Linked DNA regions of Homo sapiens: region 2 is linked to region 1. Evidence: promoter capture Hi-C in human tissues and cell types (Jung and others, 2019). All regions are on one chromosome and are shown on one strand. The core of a region is centred on a gene start or on the middle of the fragment in contact, and the rest is flanking DNA. Distances in the headings are between cores, read along the strand shown. Region 1 holds the start of NKX3-1 (NK3 homeobox 1). Region 2 has its middle 11 kb from the start of LOXL2.

Region 1 (7,254 bases), core at 1,570-4,069:
AACGTCACGATGCAGTGCATGGCTGTATGAGAGCAGCTGTTCCTCCACACTCTCACTTACACTGGACATTATCCATTTTTTTTAACCTTTGTCAATCTGAAAGGTGGAAAAGGCTCGTCTCAATGTGATTTTGATTTGCATTCCTTCACTGATGAAGTGTAGTTAAAATATTTTTTTCACGTGCTCGTTTGTGTTTTACATCTTTGAGCTGTCTGGAATTTATTTTGTCATAAGAATAGGACTTTATCTTTTCCAAATGGCAGCACTTGTTATTAAATAATTCATACCCAACTCTCAATTTTAGAAATAAAAGGAGGCCATCTCAATCTAAACCTCACACTATATACAAAAATTAATTCTGAAGGAATCATGGATTGAAGAGTAAAGCATAAAACTTTTAGAAGATAACATAGGAGCAAATCTTCAGTATTAGGACTAAACAAAGAGTTCTTAGGCAGGACATCAAAATCACATTCTGTAAAATTCAAAAATTCATAAATTGATCTTCAATGAAATTAAAATCTTTTGTTCTGTTGAAGATCCTGTTAGAGGGATGGAAACACAAGCTACAGACTGGGAGATAATATTTGCAAATAACCTACCAAACAAAGACTTACAAACAGCAATATATAAAGAACTATCATAACTCAATGGTTAAAAAATAAAAGAAAGAAAAATTCAATTATAATATGAGCAAAAGGCTTGAACAGATATTTCACCAAAGAGGAAATATGGATGGCAAACAAGCACATGACAAGGTATTCAACATCTCTAGGCATTTGTGAAATGCAAATTAAAAATTTAAACCACAATAAGGCCCAGCACAGTGGCTCACACCTGTAGTCTCAGCACTTTGGGTGGTGGAGGCGGAAGGATTGTTTGAGCCCAGGGCTTTGAGACCAGCCTGGGCAACAGGGTGAAACCTTATCTTTACAAAAACTACAAAAATTAACTGGGCAGGGTGGCACACACCTGTAGTCCCAGCTATTCAGGAGGCTGAGGTGGGAGAATCTCCTGAGCCCAGGAGGTTGAAGTTGCAGTGAGCCATGATCTCTCCACTGCACTCCAGCCTGGGCAACAGAGCAAGACCCTATCTCTAAATAAATAAATAAATGACGTCTGTAGTCTAGTTAACTGTAATGTCCCAACGTAAATTTCCTGTTTTCTACATTGTCCTACAGTTGTATAGATGTCTTTGGAGGACACTGGAGGTATTATTTTTGCAACTTCCTGTGAATCTACAATGATTCAAAAGAAAACATTAAAGAATGTTCTAATATAAAGAGACTTTGAAAAGATGAGAGAAGAAAACCAGCTTTGCCAAAGTCTTTCCCGTTGCACAGGTAGTTTTCTTTGGCGGTCGCTTTATCAGCAATAACCTATTAACTTTCCTTCCTCCAGAGACACATGACATACCATCCTTTTGAAAAGTTGCCAGTTGAATAGAAGCCGTCTTAGACCAGGACAGACAAAAAAGTTGCATTAAAAAAATGGTTCTAAAAAACATCAGCCTACCCTTTTTCCAGATTACCAACTGTTACCATTTAACCCATCGGCTTTATGGCGTGGGATCTATCAATCTGCATCCTTGTTTCAGAACCATTTGATGTAAGTTTCATAAATCTTGTGCCTTTGCTCCTACTTACTTCAGTGTTTATTTCCTAAAAATATTCTCTTGTACACTGACAGTACAATGTGCAATTTCAGTAAATTTAACATTAATTCAATACTTCCATCATCGACCTGACACTGAGACTCATGCCTGTAGTCCTGGCACTTTGAGAGGCCAAGGCAGGAGGATCACTTGAATCCAGGAAATCGAGGCTGCAGTGAGTTATGATGGCATCACTGCACTCCAGCCTGGGCGGCAGAGGGAGACCCTGTCCGTAAAAAAAAGAAGAGAAAAGACAAGGAAAGAAAATACTTCCATCATCTCTGTTCCACTTTCGTCTGTTGTCACGGTACCGTCCAGTCCAGTCACAGTACCGGTTGGACCAATCTGGCTAACCCATTGTTTAGCCAATGGGTTACATGTTAACAGTTGGTAATCTGCAAAAAGAGTATGCTGATGTTCTTTTGAACTACTTTTTTAAATGCAGTTTTTGCATTTGTCCTGGCCTAAAACGCCTTCCATCCGTCTGGAAACTTTTCAAAAGGATGGTATGTCATGTGTCTGGGGAGGAAGGAAAGTTAACAGGTTATTGCGGATAAAGGAACCACCAAAGAAAACCACTTCTGCAACGGGAAAAGGCTTTGGCAAAGGTGTTTTCCTTCTTTCAGCCTGGGGTCTGGCTGCACCTACTTGTCATGCCTCTTTGAGGTCGTAGATATTGCAGATCTGAGTTTGCACCATCTCTCCCAGAGAGAGAGAGCACCCAGAACTCTCACGGTACCGCGCGGCTGCAGTGACTGCGTGCTCATCCCCTGTAATTGGCTCTGACGGTCCTGAAGAGCTAACTGGACTGTTTGTCTTGATCGTCCCATCCCCAGGAGCTTCTCTCTGTTGCGGGTGGGTTGGGGCAGAGGAGCCCCGCTTTGGGGTGCGCTCCTGGCCTGGGAAAACGGCTCAGGGCGGAGGGAGGAGAGCTGGAGAAGGAGAGGAAATTGGGGAAGGAGAGGGAATTGGGGAAGGAGAGGGAACTGGGGAAGGAATCCCCTAGGGAGGAGCGGAGCGGGGCAGTGCTCAGGGCTCGCAGATCGGCGGGGTCACCTGGGGCTCAGGGCGGCCAATCCGCGGCGCGGCCCGTCCCGCGGCCAATGGGAGGGCGGCGCGGCCCGCTCCCCTGGGCTATAAGCGAGCCGGGAGGCGGAAAGTGAAAGCGGTGCGGGCCGGGCGGGTGCATTCAGGCCAAGGCGGGGCCGCCGGGATGCTCAGGGTTCCGGAGCCGCGGCCCGGGGAGGCGAAAGCGGAGGGGGCCGCGCCGCCGACCCCGTCCAAGCCGCTCACGTCCTTCCTCATCCAGGACATCCTGCGGGACGGCGCGCAGCGGCAAGGCGGCCGCACGAGCAGCCAGAGACAGCGCGACCCGGAGCCGGAGCCAGAGCCAGAGCCAGAGGGAGGACGCAGCCGCGCCGGGGCGCAGAACGACCAGCTGAGCACCGGGCCCCGCGCCGCGCCGGAGGAGGCCGAGACGCTGGCAGAGACCGAGCCAGGTAAGCGGCGAGGCCGGGGAAGGGGGGCAGCCCAAGGCGGACCCCCAGAGCTCGGGGTGCAGGGACGCGGGGCTCCGCGGCGACAGGCAGAGGGACCTTCCCGCCTCCGCAGCCACGCGCGCGCCCCCGGAATGAACCCTGAGCCCCAGCGTCAGGGCGGCGCAGGATTCTGACACCGCAGGACTCGCCCGGCTCCGTGCCCTCCGCTCCCTGGGGCTCAGAAGCCGGCGCGACTGCAGCGCCACCGCCCTCCACCGTCCCAGGAGCGGATCCCGCCCCGCGCCACCCGCGATCGGCGCCAGCCCCCCGGTAGTTATGAGAACTAATAATAACTTATTAACAGTGACAAAGCAGGGGTTGACCAGCAAAGCCTCCGTGTGCTTCCCAATCCCGTGGGCAGTAAAGCGGTATATTCGGGGTTCCCTCCGGTGTCCAGGAGAGAGAGTCCACTTATTTTCTTTCCTGTCACTTCTGATGAGGCGACCGAACGCCTCGTTTAGCGAAGAGGGAATTAAAGCCCAGAATGAGCCTGCCTCTGCGTCTCCAGTGGCACAAGCCCTCTCTTGCCCACCTGGATCCTAACACCGGATGTCTTTTGGTCTGGCCTTCCCGGGTATCTTGTTCCACGGCATTTTCCCTGCCTCCCTCTCCCGCCTCTCCTCAGCACACAGATCCAGAATCCCCATATAATTCTACTAGACAGTAGGGAGAAAGTTCAACCACGAAACGTCTCTAACTTTGGGTTCTTGATGATTCTTAGCAAATGAATGCGTAATAAACATATTTACTCACTCTTCACTCCGGAGAGCTCCTTAGTCATGTGAAAAAAGTGAAATGTATCCACGATGACAGTGGGCTGTTTGTTCACTCACTAAAGAGATAAGGGTGGATTGAATTCTGTTCTCTTCCCTGCTAACATGTAACTTTTGTCTTCCCATCCCTCCTTCCCCACTCTCCTTTCCAGAAAGGCACTTGGGGTCTTATCTGTTGGACTCTGAAAACACTTCAGGCGCCCTTCCAAGGCTTCCCCAAACCCCTAAGCAGCCGCAGAAGCGCTCCCGAGCTGCCTTCTCCCACACTCAGGTGATCGAGTTGGAGAGGAAGTTCAGCCATCAGAAGTACCTGTCGGCCCCTGAACGGGCCCACCTGGCCAAGAACCTCAAGCTCACGGAGACCCAAGTGAAGATATGGTTCCAGAACAGACGCTATAAGACTAAGCGAAAGCAGCTCTCCTCGGAGCTGGGAGACTTGGAGAAGCACTCCTCTTTGCCGGCCCTGAAAGAGGAGGCCTTCTCCCGGGCCTCCCTGGTCTCCGTGTATAACAGCTATCCTTACTACCCATACCTGTACTGCGTGGGCAGCTGGAGCCCAGCTTTTTGGTAATGCCAGCTCAGGTGACAACCATTATGATCAAAAACTGCCTTCCCCAGGGTGTCTCTATGAAAAGCACAAGGGGCCAAGGTCAGGGAGCAAGAGGTGTGCACACCAAAGCTATTGGAGATTTGCGTGGAAATCTCAGATTCTTCACTGGTGAGACAATGAAACAACAGAGACAGTGAAAGTTTTAATACCTAAGTCATTCCTCCAGTGCATACTGTAGGTCATTTTTTTTGCTTCTGGCTACCTGTTTGAAGGGGAGAGAGGGAAAATCAAGTGGTATTTTCCAGCACTTTGTATGATTTTGGATGAGTTGTACACCCAAGGATTCTGTTCTGCAACTCCATCCTCCTGTGTCACTGAATATCAACTCTGAAAGAGCAAACCTAACAGGAGAAAGGACAACCAGGATGAGGATGTCACCAACTGAATTAAACTTAAGTCCAGAAGCCTCCTGTTGGCCTTGGAATATGGCCAAGGCTCTCTCTGTCCCTGTAAAAGAGAGGGGCAAATAGAGAGTCTCCAAGAGAACGCCCTCATGCTCAGCACATATTTGCATGGGAGGGGGAGATGGGTGGGAGGAGATGAAAATATCAGCTTTTCTTATTCCTTTTTATTCCTTTTAAAATGGTATGCCAACTTAAGTATTTACAGGGTGGCCCAAATAGAACAAGATGCACTCGCTGTGATTTTAAGACAAGCTGTATAAACAGAACTCCACTGCAAGAGGGGGGGCCGGGCCAGGAGAATCTCCGCTTGTCCAAGACAGGGGCCTAAGGAGGGTCTCCACACTGCTGCTAGGGGCTGTTGCATTTTTTTATTAGTAGAAAGTGGAAAGGCCTCTTCTCAACTTTTTTCCCTTGGGCTGGAGAATTTAGAATCAGAAGTTTCCTGGAGTTTTCAGGCTATCATATATACTGTATCCTGAAAGGCAACATAATTCTTCCTTCCCTCCTTTTAAAATTTTGTGTTCCTTTTTGCAGCAATTACTCACTAAAGGGCTTCATTTTAGTCCAGATTTTTAGTCTGGCTGCACCTAACTTATGCCTCGCTTATTTAGCCCGAGATCTGGTCTTTTTTTTTTTTTTTTTTTTTTTTTTTCCGTCTCCCCAAAGCTTTATCTGTCTTGACTTTTTAAAAAAGTTTGGGGGCAGATTCTGAATTGGCTAAAAGACATGCATTTTTAAAACTAGCAACTCTTATTTCTTTCCTTTAAAAATACATAGCATTAAATCCCAAATCCTATTTAAAGACCTGACAGCTTGAGAAGGTCACTACTGCATTTATAGGACCTTCTGGTGGTTCTGCTGTTACGTTTGAAGTCTGACAATCCTTGAGAATCTTTGCATGCAGAGGAGGTAAGAGGTATTGGATTTTCACAGAGGAAGAACACAGCGCAGAATGAAGGGCCAGGCTTACTGAGCTGTCCAGTGGAGGGCTCATGGGTGGGACATGGAAAAGAAGGCAGCCTAGGCCCTGGGGAGCCCAGTCCACTGAGCAAGCAAGGGACTGAGTGAGCCTTTTGCAGGAAAAGGCTAAGAAAAAGGAAAACCATTCTAAAACACAACAAGAAACTGTCCAAATGCTTTGGGAACTGTGTTTATTGCCTATAATGGGTCCCCAAAATGGGTAACCTAGACTTCAGAGAGAATGAGCAGAGAGCAAAGGAGAAATCTGGCTGTCCTTCCATTTTCATTCTGTTATCTCAGGTGAGCTGGTAGAGGGGAGACATTAGAAAAAAATGAAACAACAAAACAATTACTAATGAGGTACGCTGAGGCCTGGGAGTCTCTTGACTCCACTACTTAATTCCGTTTAGTGAGAAACCTTTCAATTTTCTTTTATTAGAAGGGCCAGCTTACTGTTGGTGGCAAAATTGCCAACATAAGTTAATAGAAAGTTGGCCAATTTCACCCCATTTTCTGTGGTTTGGGCTCCACATTGCAATGTTCAATGCCACGTGCTGCTGACACCGACCGGAGTACTAGCCAGCACAAAAGGCAGGGTAGCCTGAATTGCTTTCTGCTCTTTACATTTCTTTTAAAATAAGCATTTAGTGCTCAGTCCCTACTGAGTACTCTTTCTCTCCCCTCCTCTGAATTTAATTCTTTCAACTTGCAATTTGCAAGGATTACACATTTCACTGTGATGTATATTGTGTTGCAAAAAAAAAAAAAAAGTGTCTTTGTTTAAAATTACTTGGTTTGTGAATCCATCTTGCTTTTTCCCCATTGGAACTAGTCATTAACCCATCTCTGAACTGGTAGAAAAACATCTGAAGAGCTAGTCTATCAGCATCTGACAGGTGAATTGGATGGTTCTCAGAACCATTTCACCCAGACAGCCTGTTTCTATCCTGTTTAATAAATTAGTTTGGGTTCTCTACATGCATAACAAACCCTGCTCCAATCTGTCACATAAAAGTCTGTGACTTGAAGTTTAGTCAGCACCCCCACCAAACTTTATTTTTCTATGTGTTTTTTGCAACATATGAGTGTTTTGAAAATAAAGTACCCATGTCTTTATTAGATTTATGTGTGTGTGATTTTCAGTTTCCTAAAAACTACATGCTGTGTAACTTAGATATTTCTAATTACCATATCCTCTTGCCCTCGTCCACCTAACACACCAATTGCAACCTATGGTGATCAAAAGCCTCAGCCTACCCAGTAGCTGGTGATGGCCATCCTTTTATAAATGCAACGTCCTTCGTTCCTGTTAAGT
Region 2 (7,254 bases), core at 2,364-4,863, 270 kb after region 1:
TGATGAAAGCCCTTCGGAGCCACTGTCTGTAAAATGGAGAGAGTTGTGACATTCATTCTTTTCCAGCCCAGGACTTTATCTCCTGCTCCATCTTTCCTGACTCAGGCCTCAACTGCAGCCTCGGTCATCCCGTCTGGAAGGTTTGCCTCAGAGCCCAGCCAAGGTCTGGGCAGGTCTGGGCATCCCATGATTGGAGTTGGAGGTCACCTGCAGAGAAACAATGTCACCACCCAGTGGCTGCGCAACCCAGTTTAGTTCCAACCTGAACTGCCCTGCTGAAAAGACAATGTGACCTTTGCAGCATAATCACTGCCAAAAGTAGTCATTTTATAGCAGAAATACAGAGATACTGGGTGAACTCTACAAAGTGGAAGAGACAAGAAAGGTGAAGTTTTCCTCCACCTCTCATTGCAGCTCCACTGTTGGAGGGGCCACAGGGATGGGGTAATGGGACCAATTTATTCCCGTGGATAGTAGTTCCCCTGGGTGTCTACATCCAGGGCTCTTCCTCTGGTGTTTGTCTACTCTGGGTGTTTACACCCTGCCAGAGCAGAGGCTGGCTTAAGACCTGTGGGTGGGCAGATCCCAGGGTCCCTCACTCTCACACAGGCAGGTTTTAGCCCATGTTGGTGAGGCGTGAGTCACAGGCTGGAGAGGAATTCACTTCAAGTCAGTGGTTTGGGATGGCAGGGATATTCATTTCCTGATTCTCCTTGCATTGCGCCTCTCTTAATAATTACACCTAATAATGACGGAACAATGTTCTCTTGTTAGAGAACATTCACATTTAATTTATTTGGCTTCCTTAACAGCTTTGTGAGATATGTAGGGGATATAAAATTATATCTCAATCTATGAAAAAGAACACCAAGATTCAGGGAAAATGGGACAATGCCATTTTTACAGTGAGGAGGAGGCTTTGTTATCTAAGTCAATGCCCCATTTCCTGAGGGGAAATCTAAGACTGGAATCCAAGTTGCCTGATGTCCCTGGAGCTCTCCCCAATGATAAGTCTTGGTCAGTTTGGAGGAAGTGGCTCCAGCTGCTCCTGACATATCACCAGCTCTAAAAAAATGAAATTAAAAGGGCAAATAAGGTCTTAGTTTTATTTTAAAAATAGTTTGATCCAGTGGACCCCCTGAAAGGGTCTTGGTAACTCCCAGTGGTCCCCAACCATACTTCTAGAACAACCGCTGGCCCAGAGCAGGAAGGTAAACTGTGGAGGGGGTGAACAGAGAAGCAAAGTCTCCAGTGTCCCAGTGTTGGTCACAGCCAGCTGTGGCTGGAAGGCTGGGAAGGGAACACCACTCATATGTTTGTCTCAGTCAGCTCAGCTGCTATGACAAAACACCAGACTGGGTGGCATAAACAACAGACATTTCTCATGGTTCTGGAGGCTGGGAAGTTCAAGGTCAAGATGCTGGCCAATTTGGTTCCTGGTTCATAGACCCATCTTTTCACTGGACCTTTCCTGGCAAACAGAAAGAGTGATTTCTCTCTCTGCCTCTTCATAGAAAGCCACTAATAAAATAAAATCCTGAGGGCCCTTCCTCATGACCTCATCTAACCCTAATTACCTCCCCAAGACCTCATGTCCAAATAACATCTCATTGGGAGTTACCGCTTTAATGCGAATTTTGAAGGGACATAATTCAGTCCAGAGACGTGTTCGTCCTATTTTGCTGCTAACGCTATTGAGGTCTGGGGGCTCTTTTTCCTGAACCATGGCTTCCTCTGAACATCTCATCCTCTGCCCACCATGGGCACCTCCTGGAGTGCAGGGGGCTGGCGGGCAGAGCAGAATTTGTACCTTTCCCGCCTCCCCTGTGGTGCAGACCTGGGTCTGGGCTCACAGGAGGCTCATAAATACCAGTGACTGGAACAGAGCAGTCAGGCTGTGTCCTCAGCCAACCCTGAGCGCCCTGAGCAGGCATCTCATATGCTTTCTGGGAGACCAGTGAGGCTGTGCTGGGCTGCAGCCCGGAGCGTGGGCCTTGCCAAGCGCCAGCCCATCTCTCTGCAGAAAAGCTCCCATTTTTGTCTGGTGCTCCCCCTTCCCTCTTTCAGCTGCATCTTTGAGACAAGGTGGTCAGAGCTGGCAGAAGCCAGGTGTCTGGGAATGAGATTTGAATCAGCTTTTTTTCCCCTCTGCATGACTGTGCTAGGTGAAAGTCTCCCTTTTCTCTCAGCAGGAGACTTTCCATGTGGAGGGGGCAAAAGGGAAGTTAGGAGAAGCAGCAAAATGAGAATATTGGCCCAGCTTGTCTTCAGAATCTGTCACCCCATGTTCCGAGCATAGTTCAAATTGCCAGGGTCCATCCGCTGTAGCCCCTCCCTACCTGCCCCATTCCCAGATGTCCTGGGGCTCCTGCAGGAGGAAGGATTAAGCTGGCCTCCCTGGTCTGTGACTCTCTCATGCCACCCAGCACCTACTCCAGTCTGGAATGCTTTGCTCTTCTTTCCAGGTCATTCCTCCTCTCACCTCAATTTCCTCCTCCTGCACATGGGCGCCCCCTCCAGACTCCATGCAGCCCCTACCACCATCTCCAATCCCTCAGATCTCTGCTTGCTGCAGGGTGCCAGGCATTTGCAATGAATCTCACATTGCTTTTTCTTGTTATTGAATATGAGATCGTCTCTCTCAAATCAGAATATAAGAAGCCCCTTGAAGACTACATCAAGTGTTATTCATTCCTAGTACCCTCCCTTCCTTCCGAATGTTGTCCTTCTTTCTCCTACTCCCACCCCACAAAACACAAACACAAACACACACACACACACACACACACACACACACACACTCGTAGACAGGGAGGTATGATGGCATTCTAGATGCTTGGTGGAAAACAATTTGGAGAATGAAAAGACAAGCCACGAACTTGGAGAAAATTTTGCAAAACACATTATCTGATAAAAGACTTCTGTCCAAAAGATACAAAGAACTTTTAAAAGTCAACACCCAATTTTTAGAAATGAACAAAAATACAAAAAATAGCCGGGTGTGGTGGTAGGCACCTGTAATCCCAGCTACTCAGGAGGCCAAGGCAGGAGAATCGCTTGAACCCGGGAGGCAGAGGTTGCAGTGAGCCAAGCTCACACCACTGCACTCCAGCCTGGGTGACAGAGCAAGACTCTGCCTCAAAAAAAAAGTGGGGGGCAAAAGATCTGAGCAGATACCTCACCAAAGATGTACAGATGGCAAACACAGACATGAAAAGATCCTCCACATCATATGTTATTAGAATTGCAAATTAAAACAATAATGAGACACCACTGGGCATCTGTTGGAATGGCTAATTCTAATAGATGGCTAAAATCCAGAACACTGACAACACCAAATGCTGACAAAGATGTAGAGTAACAGCAACTTTCATTCGCTGCTAGTTGGAATGCAAAATGGTACAGGCACTTCTGAAGACAATTTGGCAGTTTCTTTTTTTTCTTCTTCTTTTTTTTTTTTTTTCGAGACGGAGTCTCACTCTGTCGCCCAGGCTGGAGTGTAGTGGCGCAATCTTGGCTCACTGCAAGCTCTGCCTCCCAGGTTCACGCCATTCTCCTGCCTCAGCCTCCTGAGTAGCTGGGACTACAGGCGCCCGCCACCACGCCCGGCTAATTTTTTGTATTTTTAGTAGAGACAGGGTTTCACCATGTTAGCCAGGATGGCCTCGATCTCCTGACCTTGTGATCCGCCTGACTCAGCCTCCCGAAGTGCTGGAATTACAGGCGTGAGCCACCACGCCCGGCCAGTTTGGCAGTTTCTTACAAAACCAGACGTATTTTTACAATAAGATCCAGCAACTGGTGTTTGTACTCCTTGATATTTGCCCACAGGAGTTGAAAGCTTAAGTCCACACAAAAACTTATACATGAATGTTTACAATAGCTTCATTCATAATAGCTCAAACTCAGAAACAACCAAGATGTCTTTTAATAGATGAATGGGTAAATAAACTGTGGTACATCCCAACAGTGGAATATTATTCAGCAATTTGAAAAATGAGCTCTCAGCCGGGCACGGTGGCTTATGCCTGTAATCCGAGGTGAATGGATCATTTGAGGTCAGGAGTTCAAGACCAGTCTGGCCAACATGGTGAAACCCCGTTTCTACTAAAAATACAAAAATTCGCTGGGCATGGTGGTGAGCGCCTGTTATCCCAGCTACTCGGGAGGCTGAGGCAGGAGAATCACTTGAACCCAGGAGGCAGAGGTTGCAGTGAGCCAAGATCGTGCCACTGCTCTTGAGACTCTGTCTAAAAAAAAAAAAAAGAAAGAAAAAAGAAAAGAAAAAGAAAAATGAGCTATCAGGCCATGAGCAGGCGTGGAATCTTAAATGTCTATCGCTAAGTGAGACCGGTTGCAGTGGCTCACGCCTGTAATCGAAGCACTTCAGAAGGCTGAGGTGGGAGCATCACTGGGCAATATAGTGAGACCCTGTCTCTAAACATAAATAAATAATTATGTACATAATTAAGTGAAAGAGACCCCTCTTGGAGAGTCTACATACTGTATGACTCCAACTATGGGACACTCTGGAGTCGGCAAAACTATGGAGACGGTGAAAAGATCCGTGGTTGCCAGGGATTATGGGGAAGGGAGGGGTAAAAAGGTGGAACACAGGGAATTTTTAGGGCAATGAAACCATTCTGCATGATGCTGCAATGATGGATACATTTGTGAAAACCCATTGAATGTACAACACAAAGAATAAGCCCTAATGTAAACTGCGGACTTCAGTTAATAATAATGTGTCCATACTGGCTCATCAATTGTGATAAATGTGCCACCGAAATGCAAGATGAAAATAGTAGAGGAAACTCACTGTGTATGAGGGGCATATGGGAGCTCTCTACATTTTCTGTTTATTTTTTTCTGTAAATCTAAAACTGCTCTTAAAATTTTTAAAGAATCATAACTAGAAAAAAGCTGTCAATTTGAAGCTAACAAGTCACGTCCATGTAAATTAGTTTCAAACTGAGTGGCACTTGCTGTCTGCCAGGCATTGGGCTCTGAGCACTTCACACGCATACATTCATTTCAGCCTTACAAGAATCCTATGAGGTCCCTCCCTATTTTACAGGTGAGAAAACTGAGGCCCAGTGAAGTTAAATAACTTGCTCAGTTATGGTTAGTAAGTGGTGGAGCTGCGATTCAAACCCAGGCAGTGTTGCTCCAGCTACTATACTCTAAACCACATATTACCCCGCATTACTCTTCCCCAAACTTTTCATTTTATTTTATTTCTTTTTTTTTTTTTTTTTTTTTTTGAGACAGAGTCTGGCTCTGTCACCCAGGCTGGAGTGCAGTGACGCGATCTTGGCTCACTGCAAGCTCCGCCTCCCGGGTTCACGCAATTCTCCTGCCTCAGCCTCTGGAGTAGCTGGGTCTACAGGTGCCCGCCAACATGCCTGGCTAATGTTTTGTATTTTTAGTAGAAATGGGGTTTCACCGTGTTAGCCAGGATGGTCTTGATCTCCTGACCTCGTGATCCGCCCATCTCGGCCTCCCAAAGTGCTGGGATTACAGGCGTGAGCCACCGCACCCAGCCTATTTCATTTATTTATTTAGAGATAGGATCTTGCTACGTTGCCCAGGCTGGAGTGCAATGGCATCATCATAGTTCACTGCAGTCTTCACCTCCTGGGATCAAGCTATCCTCCCATCTCAGCCTCCCAAAGTGCTGGGATTACATACAGGCATGAGCCATCAAGCCTGGACCAAACTTTTCATTTTGAAAGAGGATAGAAAAGGGGCACCCAAGGGACTAATTTTTAAAATCAACTTTATTATGGAGTAATTTACCTAAAATAAAGTCACCCATTTTAAGTGTTCAGTTTCATGAGTTTGGGACAAACACATATGCTAATATAAACACCACCACAATCAAGGAATAGGCCATTTCCATCACTACAGAAAGCTTCCTCATGCTCCTTCCCAGGCCACCTCACCCACCTCCAGCCTCAGGCCACCAGTGATCTGCTTTCAGTCCCTGCTGTTTAGTTTAGACTTTTCTAGAGTTTTCTAGAGTTATGACTGGATCATACAGTATGTCTCCTTTTTGTGGCTGGCTTTTTTGTGCATGTCAGAGTTGGGGGCAGGCATCCTGATATGTTTGAGATTCAACCATACTGTTTGCTATGGTTTGAATGTGTCCGCCAGAGTTCATGTGTTGGAAACTTAACCCCCAGTGCATCAGAGCTGGGTGTTGGGGTCTGATAAGAGGTGACTAGGTCATGACAGCTCTGTCCTCATGAATGAATTAATGTTATTTCAAGAGTGGGCTTTTTGTAAAGGGGACTCTGGCCCCCTCTTGCTCTCTTGCTTGCTCTCCCTTCCAAGTGCCATGCCCTTGGACTTCCCAGCCTCCAGAACCATGAGTCAAATATATTTCTGTTCATTTTAAATTACCAAGTCTGTGGTATTCTGTTATAGCAACAGAAAATGGACTAAAACAGTGTTGCATGTATTGGTAGTTCACTCAAAGGAACTAATTTCTAATTGCAAGATTTCAGATATGTTAATCCCCAGGAGAGGAAAGCACACTTTTTTTATTATTATTATGACTAGGACCTTCCCAGGCTGCTTGAGTTGTACTGATCCTGGTCCCACTTCAAAGCAGGGGAGGCACTGAGTGACATCACCCTGAACTGGACCCCAAATGGGCTCCAAGCACAGGAAGTTGTTGGAGGGATTGAGTCACTCCCAACTCAAGCGGGTGATGGAAAGGGCAAGTTAGTCATGTAACCTGGTCTCATGGAATGCTTCTCCCTCCCAGACTGAATTTCCTTCTTTGCTGAATACACAGGACTGCCCTGCATAGCCTTCTTCATTAGAGAAAGCTATGAGAAGCTTTGAGCTCCTCCAAGTAAACTGTTTCATACTCTCAAACAGGCTGTTAATGATGATGATTAATAATAAATTAAGCAAAAGAAGGCCAGGTGCAGTGGCTCATGCTTGTAATCCCAGCACTTTGGGAGGCCGAGGCAGGTCAATCACTTGAGGTCAGGAGTTAGAGACCAGCCTGACCAACATGGTGAAACCCCATGTCTACTAAAAATACACACACACACACACACACACACACACACACACACACACACACACACAAATTAGCTGAGCGTGGTGACGCACGCCTGTAATCCCAGCTACTCAGGAAGCTGAGGCAGGAGAATGGCTTGAAGCCAGGAGGTGGAGGTTTCAGTGAGCCGAGATTGCATCACTGCACTCCAGCCTGGGCAACAAGAGTGAAACTCTGTC

Evidence for each region. Contacts are between HindIII fragments. The study calls those that stand out against the background at their distance.
Region 2: a contact is called between a fragment that was not itself captured here and the fragment with the promoter of NKX3-1 in region 1, in 2 of the 25 tissues and cell types used here (mesendoderm cells and thymus).

What each region holds. Positions count from the first base shown.
Region 1 is chr8:23,678,503-23,685,756 of GRCh38, reverse strand. NKX3-1 (NK3 homeobox 1) reads left to right here and starts at 2,819. Exons shown (of 2, transcript NM_006167.4): 1 at 2,819-3,153; 2 at 4,118-7,060. The coding sequence starts at 2,868. The coding sequence ends at 4,536. The region is part of intron 3 of LOC107986930 (a long non-coding RNA gene); the gene reads right to left. RefSeq lists silencers at 2,638-3,147, 3,188-3,237. The HindIII fragment of the contact is 20,085 bases long and covers 1-7,064 here.
Region 2 is chr8:23,411,052-23,418,305 of GRCh38, reverse strand. No RefSeq gene overlaps it. Among named protein-coding and RNA genes, the nearest start is that of LOXL2, 11 kb to the right of the region's middle. RefSeq lists an enhancer at 1,917-2,437. The HindIII fragment of the contact is 5,535 bases long and covers 846-6,380 here.